Regions from separate parts of the Homo sapiens genome. Here regions 1 and 3 are each linked to region 2. The links are contacts of gene promoters, found by promoter capture Hi-C in human tissues and cell types (Jung and others, 2019). All regions are on one chromosome and are shown on one strand. Each heading gives the region's core, a stretch centred on a gene start or on the middle of the fragment in contact. The rest is flanking DNA. Distances are from core to core; before and after follow the strand shown. Region 1 holds the start of KLF13 (KLF transcription factor 13). Region 2 holds the start of OTUD7A (OTU deubiquitinase 7A). Region 3 has its middle 9.5 kb from the start of LINC02352.

Region 1 (3,433 bases), core at 594-3,093, 540 kb after region 2:
GGGCTGGCGGGGGCGGGCGGTGATCCCCAGGCTGGAGGCTCAGCGCCCGCCCTGGTGCAGGTGCCGCCCGCCCCGCACCGGCCCAGGGCAGGTGAGAGGTGGGCAGGCGAGAGGGCAGCACGGAGGATGGGCAGCGGCCAGGGCATTCCTTTCCGGAGAGAGCCTCGAGGCCGAGGAGCCTAGGGCCGGGCGCGCCCCCGCCGGGCCGGATGGGCGGGGGCTCCCACAAAGAGCCGCAGGCGGGGAGCGGGACCCGGGACCGCCCCCCGCATCGCCAAGCGCCGCCGCTGACTTTGGTTACGACAAATTAAACCTTAGAGCGCTGGAAAAATTACAGGAAGAAGAGAGCGAAGAATGTGCCGAGTGGCGAAGGAAACCTTGTCCCTGCGTGAACTTCGCCCGCCGCGCGCCGGGGCCGGCCCCTCCCCTCCTGAGCGCGCGCCCGGGCAGCGGGGGAGGAAACGAGGAGGGACCCCGGAGAGCGTCCCCTGCCCCCGCTCCGGGCGCCCCACCGTCACGAGTGCCGCCTGCGGTCCACACCCAGGCCGCCCGCACCTGCCCGCGCCGCCTCCCGGCCGGGAGGGGTCCCCGCCCCCAGCCCAGATGACTATATCCGCCCCCGCGGCCCCACCCGAGCGCGCCCGGGGAGGGGGCGTGCCCGGCGGGGGCGCGGTCGCCTGGCGGGCGCCGGCTCCGAGAGCCAAGACCCGCCTCGCGCGACGCGCGGGGCCAGCCGCGGGTCGGAGCGGCAGGGGAAGGGGCGAGGCCCCGGGCGTTCCGGCCCGCCCGGCCCCCACCTCGCGCCCCATCGGGGACTCCGGGGGCGTGGTCGGGCAGCTCGCGCCGACCCCGTCCGCGCGATCCGGGCGCCCGCGCCGCCCCACTGACCTGTGTGAGTTCTCAGGTGCGCCTTGAGGTGCGAAGATTTCCCGTAAACTTTCTCGCAGCCCGCGTAGTGGCACTTGTGCTTCCTCTGCGGGGACTCGAGGTCGGCGCGACTTCGGCCCCGCCGGACCCTTTGTCTGAGGCCGGGCTCGCCGCTCCCCGCGGGCCCCGGCTCCCGCTCGGGCTCCAGCCCCGCCTCGGGCTCCGGCTCGCTCCACGCCGGGCTGGGGGGCGCGGCCGCCGCGCCTTCGGCGCCGGGGGAGGTGGGCTCGGGGGCGGGCGGCGGCAGGCGGCAGGGGGTCCTCGCCTTCCGGGCCGCGGCGCCCTCCCTGCGCTCCGCCGGGGCGGGCGCCGGCGCTTGCTGGTTGAGGTCCGCTAGGATCCGCGCCACCACGAAGAGCGAGGCGCTGTCCTTACCGTCGCGGCGCTCCTCGACGCGGGGCAGCGTGGGGGTGGCGGCCACGGCCGCGCCCTCGGGCCGGGACTCCGGCCCCTCCCGCGGCCCGTGCACGACCGCGCGGCTCGACATGGACACGAGGCACTCGGCGGCGAAGTGGTCCACATAGGCGGCGGCTGCCATGCTGCGGGCTGGGGCCGGCGGCGGTGCTCTTGCTGCGAGTCGTCAGCCGCGCATCCGCACCCACGGCCTCGGGAGAGCGGGCGGGGGGCGGGGGCGCGGCGCGCCCTCTCCTCGGGCTGGGCTGGGCTGGGCTGGGCGCGCAGCCGCCTGTGCCGTCACCCGCGCGGCTCCGCGTCTGCGAGGCGCCGGCCCGGCCGGGCACCGAAGAGTGAGCGCATGGGGCGCGCGGGCGACTGGGGTCCCCGCGCGGCGTCAGGGGCGGCCGGTTCTAAGGATGCCGAGCGGCAACGTTAGGGACCACCTCGCCAAGTCGCGGCCGCAGCTTCGCCGCGCATTGTGGCAGGCGGGACAGCTGCCGTGCGCGCCGCGGCTCCGTGTGGGCGGCCCGGCCCCGGGGGTGGGCGGGGCCGGGGCCACATCTGGACCCGACGTCAGCCCCCAGCCACATCCTGGCGGCGCAGGTTACAGGCGGCGGCGGCTGCGGGGAGCTGCGCGCGCGGAGGGGGCGGGGACCCCAGAGCGCGCACCGGCGGAACGGAGCGGTCGCGTGCCCGCGCCTGGGCAAGGGGGCGTGACCGAGGGCCGGGACAGACGCCATTGGTCCGTGAGTGCACGGCCAGGCCAATCCGAGCCGTTAGAGGGGCGTGCCCGGTCCCGGGCCCTGCGCGCGCCAGTGGGCGTGTCCCCTGGGCCGGTGGGAGGAGGGGCGGAAACTGGAGCGGGGCGCGCTGACGCATGACGTCCGGGGGCGGCGGGCCGGGTAGTCGCGGCGCGGAGCGGCTGCTTGTACCCCCCGCGGCGGGGACACAGCGAGCACTTCTCTGCCGGAGCTTTTATGTGGTGACAGCCTTGGCCCCCGGCATGGAGGGGAGCGGTTTCTGGAGGGCGCCATTTGTTCCTCCCGCGATGGGCGCCGGCGGGGAGGCGTGTCTGCCCGGCCGGGCGCGGGGCTGCCTAGGGGCGGAACGCACTCGCGCCGCGCCCTCCGCCGCCGGCTTGCCGGGTGGCCGCGCCTAGAGCCTCAGGCCGCTCGCCCTCCCCACGCCCCTGCCTTGCAGAGCTCCGGGAGTCCGGGCGGGGCAGCTCCCGCGGGAGGGACAGACTCGGGCTCGTTCCTGGGGTCCGGGGTGCGGCCGCGCTGCCCTTCAGCTCGGGTCAGCCCGAGCAGGACTGGCCTCGGCTGGCGGTGAGCCTGGCAGCCCGGGTGGCGCGCCCACCGCGGCCTGTGCCTCCAGAAGCGAACTACGTGCCAGGGCGGCCGGCGCCGCTGCTGAGGGAACGCGGGGCCCCTTCCTCCCCATCCCGCCGCAGGCCCGCTGCCAACTCTTCTAGGCTGCCCCTCTCCCACCGCGGTCGGGGGGGCTTCAAACGCCACCAGCTGCGAGGACCCCGCCCACCGCGCCCCACCCGCCCGCTGTCTGGGCCTCCCGGAGGAAATGCTCGGCTGCGCCCAGCCCGCGCCTCCCAGCCCGGGCTGGGCCACCTTGCCCTTGACTCTCACGGTAACCCCTACCCCAGCCCGCGGCCCCAGCCATTCTCCAGGCCTGGGCCGTCCTCGGAGACGCCGGTGAATAACTTCCCACCGCCGCGGAACCGGGCTCAGCAAACCCCCTACTGCCTCGCCCCGTTGCATTGTGCTTAATGGACGTTCGAAGGAGTCAGCCACCCTTGCTGTGTTCTGAGAGGAGCCTGGAGAATGAAGGAGCCCGGGCACTCACCCTCAGTGGACCCTCGCAGTGGGAGGGGGGTGTCATTCTTCTCTCAGAATTAAGGTTAATAGCCGAGTTCGAGTTCTCACCAAATTAATTTGGGGTTGGAGCTCAGTAAGACTGGTTTTCAGGTAACCGACGAGGGACCGAAACGGCCATTCTGGGTTGCGTGTTACGGTGAACAGCAAACTGCATGGATGTTTGAGCACCCTCAGTATCTGTAACTAAAACCCTGAAATGCGGTCTCGCTGATTGAGTT
Region 2 (3,402 bases), core at 459-2,958:
AAATACACAAAGAACTCTTAAAACTCAACCATAAGAAAACAACCTTTTTTTTTTAATGGGCAAAAGATGTGAACAAACATCTCACCAAAGAAGATATACAGGTGCATATGAAAAGTTGCTCCACATAATTTTTCAGTAGAAAATTGAAAATTAACAACGATATAGCACTATATGCCTACTAGAATGTCTAAAATTATAGATGATAGACGGATGGATGGATGGATGGACAGATAGATAGATAAAGATAGCCAATATCAAGTGCTGGTGAGGATGAAGGAAAGGGATTCATATTTGCTGACAGTTATAAAAATGCTATAGCCACTCTAGAAAACTGTTTGGTTCTTATAAAGTTAAACAAATTTACCATAAGATCTAGCAATTGCACTCCTAGATATTTAGTCAACTAATTTAAAAAATTTGTCCGTACAAAACGCTGCATGCAAATGTTTATAGAATGTTTATTCACAGTCGCCAAAAACTGGAAACCACGCAAATATTCTCCAGTGGGTGACTAAACAAAATGTGGTACAAATAATGAGACTCCCCTCAACAATAAAAAGGACTATTACTATACACAATAACATGGATGAATCTCCAAGGTATAATGATGAGGGAATAAAGTCAGTTTCAAAATGTTACATATTGCGTAATTCCATGTATACGACACACTCACAAAGACAAAACCGTAGCAATGGAGAACCTATCAGTGGTTACCAAAAGTTAGGGTTGGCGGGGGCGCTGTTATAAAAGGGCAGAACTAGGGAGCTCTTTATTGCGCTAGTGGTTACATGAATCCAAACAAGGGTTCAAGATCACAGGATTATATATCAAATAACCAATTTTACTGAATATCAATTTTAAAAGTCAAATAAATTATTAAACACTATTAAACATATACAATGTTTAAAGTCAAGCAAAAAGTCCTAAACTAAAAGTAAAATAATGATTGTTTAGAAGTACACCAGGATGGTATGGGTCATCTGCAATATAACGTCCTGTTTGGGATAAGGAAGCGTGACTACATCTACAGGGTGACGTGAGAAGGGCCCAGAGCAGCGAGCAGGTCTTGCCATCAGGGAGGGGAACCATCTGAAGGGGTGGCGTGAAAAAGTCTTTAGAGGAAGGCAAAAAATGGGAAAAGGTCAGAGAACCTTTTTGGGAGGTAAAAGGACCAGCTTTGGATTAGGCGTGATGCACAGGCCCCAGCGCAGGGCGTAGAAACTGCAGCCTGGACAGCCTGGGTGGGAGAAAGTTTGGGATGTTTAGGAAGGAAGGGTGCGCCAGCCAGGGGGAAGAAACGAGACAGGTGGCCGCAGATGGCGCGAGTCAGGCAGCAGGAAAAGGCAGGCTGTTTAAGCAGCCTTTTCCTGCAGTCCAGGCGGAGAGCGCAGAAGGAGCACCCCGAGGGGCAAGCATGGGAGAGCCGGAGCGGGCTCGCGGGCGCGCGGGCGCTGTACGTCCCCTCCTCGGCTCGCGGCCGCGAGCACGCGCTCTCCGTGCCCGGCCCCGGAGGGGCGGGGGCGGGGCACAGGCGCGGCGCGCGCACGTCCGCGCGGGGCGGGGGCGGGGCGCGAACGCGACCGGTGACGTCAGAGGAGGGCGCGCGCCCGGAGGCAGCAGGCGGAGCCGGGAGGCGGGCGTTGTGCGCGGCCGCGGGCGGAGCGGAGGGGCGCGAGGGGCGGAGCGGAGCGCGGGAGGAGGCGGGGGAGGAGAGGCCACCGGGACCGCGAGCGGCAGCTGGGGAGGGGGCCGCGGAGCCCGAGCGGGAGCAAAACAGCTGATCTGGTTTTCCTTTAAAGCGAGAGAAAATGGAAGTCGGGTAGCGGCGACTGCGGCGCTGCGGGCTGGCGGAGCGGAGCGGCGCGGCGCGGCAGGTAAGACGGCGCTGGCCGCGGTGCTGCCGGCGGGCGGCGGGGCCGGGCCCGCGGACCAGGCAGGTGCGCTCTCCGGGCGCGGGGCCGGCGCCGTCTCCTTCCCGAGCTCCGTGGCGAGGCAGGTGGGCGTTGAGGCCGGGCGACCGCGGGGCCGGGGCGCGGGGACGCGGGGGGCGCGGGCCCCGGCTGGGCTCGCCGGCGCGTCTGCATTGCGGGCTCCGCTCCGGACCCCGCGGGCTCCCGGGCCACCGGCTCCGGCCCGGCGTGGCGCGCCTCTCTCGGGCAGGGCGCGGCGCTACCGCTGGGTCGGGGCTGCTGCCTCCGCTCAGCCCTTTGGCTGTCCGCACTGGAACGTGATGCCAGGCGTGGGGCGACCGACCCCTCGGTCCGTGCGCGCGCGTCGGGGGTCCCGCGGCTCTTGCAGACGGCCGGGCAGGGCCCGGCCCCGAGCCGCGCGCGAGGCCGCTCGCCGGGCACCGGAGCTGTGACTGCGTGGGTCCCCGCGGCCCGGCGCACCGCCGTCCCGCTCGCTCTGCTGGGTCTCGCTGGACAGCAGGCAAACCATTAAGGCAATTTGGCTGTGAACCCAGAGGCCTTCCCTAGTATCTCCTCACTGGAGGGGAAAAAATTGCATCTGCGGTGCTTTAAGTGCTCCTTTAAATTTGGGAGATGTCAGTGATGTCATCATTAACTAAAACTTTCCTTCATTGGACACAACCGCTCAAGTGTACCCTCCTCCCTCCCGGTGAAGCTATTGCAGCCCTTTGAGAATCTCTGTAATAAAATGGATTTGCCTCTGCTCTGTAAACTCAGCTACCTCACACAAGTGCAAATGACTTTTATTTCTGTCTATTGGCTTGAGAATGTATAGATTTAAGAGTAGCTGAAGGGAAACTTGTGAGACCCCGATCAGGGAAACGCTTCATCCACAGCACAAGGATCCAGGGGAAAGTCATGTATGACATGCACATGGTTACCGCCAGGTGATACCTTTGTAAATGGAAGTGGGCTGTAAGAGGAACAATTTTTAAAAATATGATGAGGCAGATAATGTGTCCAGGAAAAGGTTGACAGCGGGGCCTAAATCTTTACAGGTCTTAATTGCTTCAGGAAAATCTGCAGGTGTCCTTCACCATCCTCCTCCTCCTCCTCCAGGGTGTGCCCGGAGAAGCCTGCCCTGGGCGAAGGCGGGGAGGCAGGTTCACTAGGGTCCTCCCAGCAGCCGTGTGTCCCACCAGCTTCAAAGGCCTCTTCAAGACCCAAAGAGGGTTCACGAGAACAGAGGTAGATCTGCACGGCACACTCAGTTCTGGATAAACATTCCCCACTAAATGGGATCAACACTCCATTATTTTATTGTGAGTGTGCCATTAGTACCAATTCTTATGGGAACAAAACTAAGCAAGTTCCCAAGGCAATCTGAGTATCTACTCAAGCCTATCATATCGAAAGGATATCCAATAAGGGACAAAAGTATTGACATTTTTGTATTTAATAATTAATGACACCTCCTAATTGGTTAAAATAA
Region 3 (3,456 bases), core at 611-3,110, 660 kb after region 2:
TCTCGCTCTGTTGCCCAGGTTGGAATGCAATGGTGCAATCTCAGTTAACTGCAACCTCCGCCTCCTGGAGGTTCAAGCACTTCTCCTGCCTCAGCCTCCTGAGTAGCTGGGACAACAGGCATCTGCCACCAGGCCCAGCTAATTTTGTATTTTTAGTAGAGACAGGGTTTCACCATGTTGGTCAGGCTGGTCTCAAACTCCTGACCTCAGGTAATCTGCCTGCCTCAGCCTCCAGAAGTGCTGGGATTACAGGCATGAGCCACTGCACCCAGCCTGGTGGGGTAATTTGTAATGAACAAAAATTTATTGGCTCATGATTCTGGAGGCTGGGAAGTCCAAGATCAAAGGACTGACATCTGGTGAGGGCCTTCTTGCTGCATCACCCCCTAGAGGAAGGGCAAAGAAAGAGCCAGAATGAGAGCAAGGACTGAACTCCTCCTTTCTGTGGCATTTAATCCATTTATAAGAGCAAAGTCCTCATGACCTAATCACCCCTCAATGGTCCCACTTCTTAATACTGTTACAATGGCAATGAAATTTCAACATGAGTTTTGGAGGAGACATTCGAACCATAGCATAGTGCAATCTATTTGTTCGTCATCAAAAAAACTTGACAAACCCTGGATTAGTTAATTCTGAAGGTTCCTTTGGCACCAAGATTCTGTAATTCTGCCTGCTGTTTAGAGAATCATGCCCTAGGCTTCCTGGGACAAGCCCACCTTTTCCTTTGATAGATTTCTCAGGCATCAGCAGCTAACCTCTCCTGGCATTCACCTGTCTCTAAGGCAGGTGACAGTGGAAGTCAGAAGATCTAAACAGTGCCACTCTCTGCTGTGGTAGGTTCTCTGTGGTCTGGGGTTTGATCTTAGCATCTAGGTCTATATGCTTCCGGAAGCTCCCTCATCTTCTGCTGACTTGCAGGTGCTGCTGGAGATACTATCTGAGCATCCCCAAAGAGCCTTGGGAGCCATCCAGGTCCACACTCAGAAACCCACCCAGAGCTGGGGCAGTGACCTCCGTGTCCTATGGACCAGCTTGAGATATTTTCAAGATTCCCCAGGGTTACGCTGACTGGGCCAAATCCTTTGTAGAGGCTTAGTCTTTCCATGGGAATGGTTTGTACCTGGAGCCTACGAAACATGACACTGAGGGTTACCTGTTTCCACACCATTGCCTTTTTCTTTAATGATGTGTGCCCAGGACGCCCGGGGAATCGGGATTGGCTTGGTGTTGGGCTTTCCTGTGACTGGCTCAGGGTGGGCATGTGATGCAGTGAGCAGGAAGGGGAGTGTTACAGTGAGAGCTTTTCCAGGTGGTGAGGAAAAAGCACACTTTCCCTCCTGCTGGGGCCCTGTGCGGTGTGAAGTGCTGGGGGTGGGAGCAGCCCTCCGTGATTTATGAGGGAGAAACCCCAAACCCCAGACATGCTGAATAGGCCCGGCAGCCCGTGGGAGCATTCCTGAGCCTTGGCAAAGGGGCGTCCCTCAGAGTCATTATCACAGATACCACTGATGACCAGACATTCTGTGGCTTGCAGTCAGTGGCATCCTGTCAGAGAGGATCACGCTCTTCCTTTGAGGTCCACGGGAAGGGACCATGCTGGGGGTACCTTATAGGCCCCTCACTGTTTGGAGTTCTGGAGCTCCAAGAATCAAGGAATTTGGTTCTTGCCCTGCACAAATGTGAAGCGAGGATGCCCCCTTGGCATTGCCATGCCCATTGCAACGGGAATGAGAGAGGGCAGGGCAGGCTGCTCATTTTGTAATTGGCAAAGGGAGGGGGCTTTTTATAATAGAAACTAGGGCAGTTTTGACAGTCCCACGGACCCCCTTGCTTTGGTGTGAGCAGCCACACCCTGTTGTGATTTTATTGTCATCATACTGTCACTTGATCAGCTCCTTTAAGGCTTCGCTGACTTTTATTCTCTTAGATACTGTTGTTTGTGCAATAAGACTCTGAAGTCTTTGCAAGCAAGTTAAATTGAGATACACCAATTTCTTGCATGCAGTATAGGAATTATTCTCTAAAATGCAAATGTAGTATATTAGTTCTTAATGGCTAGGTGTGGATCCAAGTTTTGTGAGGTCTGGAGATTATACAGTCATAAGACTCCTTTAAGAATTAAAAATTTGGAAAATAAAAAATTAGGTATAAAAGCAAATATTTAGAATGAGAAAATAATAAACCTTACAAATTTTAAAGAGCTGAAAACCATCACAAACATCATAAAGTACAGAAATATAACATAACATCTTTTTATAGCTAACTGCCTGACATAATTATATAATACGTGTTTTCCTACATTTTTGGCTACAAATTCTTTAGTCATCCTTTATATGGCAGGTTTTTTTGGTCATATTTCCTATACAACACATAAAAGGGTAATTTAATCTTTTATCTGGCACAGGGGGCCAGAAGCTTCTTCTGTAAAGGACCAAAGCAAATATTTCAGGCTTTGGGGACCAAGCCTATGTATTAAGTACCCATATCCGCCATTGTAGCAGGAAAGTGGCCATAGACAATTTGTAAATGAATGAGCATGGCTGTGTTCCAACAAAACTGTATTTACAAAAACAAGTGACAGCCTCCAGGACGTAGTTCAATTGATAGTCTAGCATCAAAATAATAAATTTAATTAAAAGTTTAGAAAACTTTCAGCTTCACAATCCATTATTAGTAATATCATGTACATTTTTAAGACTCAAATTTGGGACCTTTTCTTTTCTTTTTTGAGACAGAGTCTCACTCTGTCACCCAGGCTGGAGTGCAGTGGCACTATCTCAGCTCACTGCAAGCTCCACCTTCTGGGTTTACGCCATTCTCCTGCCTCAGCCTCCCAAGTAGCTGGGACTACAGGTGCCTGCCACCACGCCCAGCTAATTTTTTGTATTTTTAGTAGAGACGGGGTTTCACCGTGTTAGCCCGGATGGTCTCAATCTCCTGACCTTGTGATCCGCCCTCCTCGGCCTCCCTAAGTGCTGGGATTACAGGTGTGAGCCACTGCACCTGGCTGGGACCTTTTCTAATATGTTTTTTTCTCTATATGAGCTGTAAGGTTTCCAGGCATTTTCAGGTTTTCTTGTACAGAGATTCATCTTAATTAAACACACTTTGAAGTGATAATGCCTCTTAATCCGTTTGTCACTGTTATCTGCATTTCACTGCTTTGGTGGCAGTTTTGCATGCTTTTAACTGGAGCCATCAGACATCAGGACCAGATGTATCTGAGACACTAAAACATAATGTGATAAGATGAAATGTATGAAGAACACAACTGCACACACAAATGCTTTTGCTGTGGTAGTGCTACAAGTTTATGCCCCACAAACAGAAATTCTGACAAACCCTACTTCTTTTGATTACCAGCAGCAGACCTGGCTTGGAGGGAGGGTGGCTGACAGGAGGCAGAAGTCATGGTGGACACTACCTTGTGTGACTGAGATCCTTGCTTACCTA

Evidence for each region. Contacts are between HindIII fragments. The study calls those that stand out against the background at their distance.
Region 1: a contact is called between the fragment with the promoter of KLF13 here and the fragment with the promoter of OTUD7A in region 2, in 1 of the 25 tissues and cell types used here (dorsolateral prefrontal cortex).
Region 3: a contact is called between a fragment that was not itself captured here and the fragment with the promoter of OTUD7A in region 2, in 1 of the 25 tissues and cell types used here (dorsolateral prefrontal cortex).

What each region holds. Positions count from the first base shown.
Region 1 is chr15:31,325,245-31,328,677 of GRCh38, reverse strand. It overlaps KLF13 (KLF transcription factor 13), which reads right to left and starts at 1,843. Exons shown (of 2, transcript NM_015995.4): 1 at 889-1,843. The coding sequence starts at 1,465. RefSeq lists an enhancer at 2,121-2,634 and a promoter at 1,662-2,718. The HindIII fragment of the contact is 14,180 bases long and covers 1-3,433 here.
Region 2 is chr15:31,868,979-31,872,380 of GRCh38, reverse strand. OTUD7A (OTU deubiquitinase 7A) reads left to right here and starts at 1,708. Exons shown (of 13, transcript NM_001382637.1): 1 at 1,708-1,874. RefSeq lists a silencer at 1,676-1,745. The HindIII fragment of the contact is 13,679 bases long and covers 1-3,402 here.
Region 3 is chr15:31,204,838-31,208,293 of GRCh38, reverse strand. No RefSeq gene overlaps it. Among named protein-coding and RNA genes, the nearest start is that of LINC02352, 9.5 kb to the left of the region's middle. The HindIII fragment of the contact is 4,398 bases long and covers 1-3,456 here.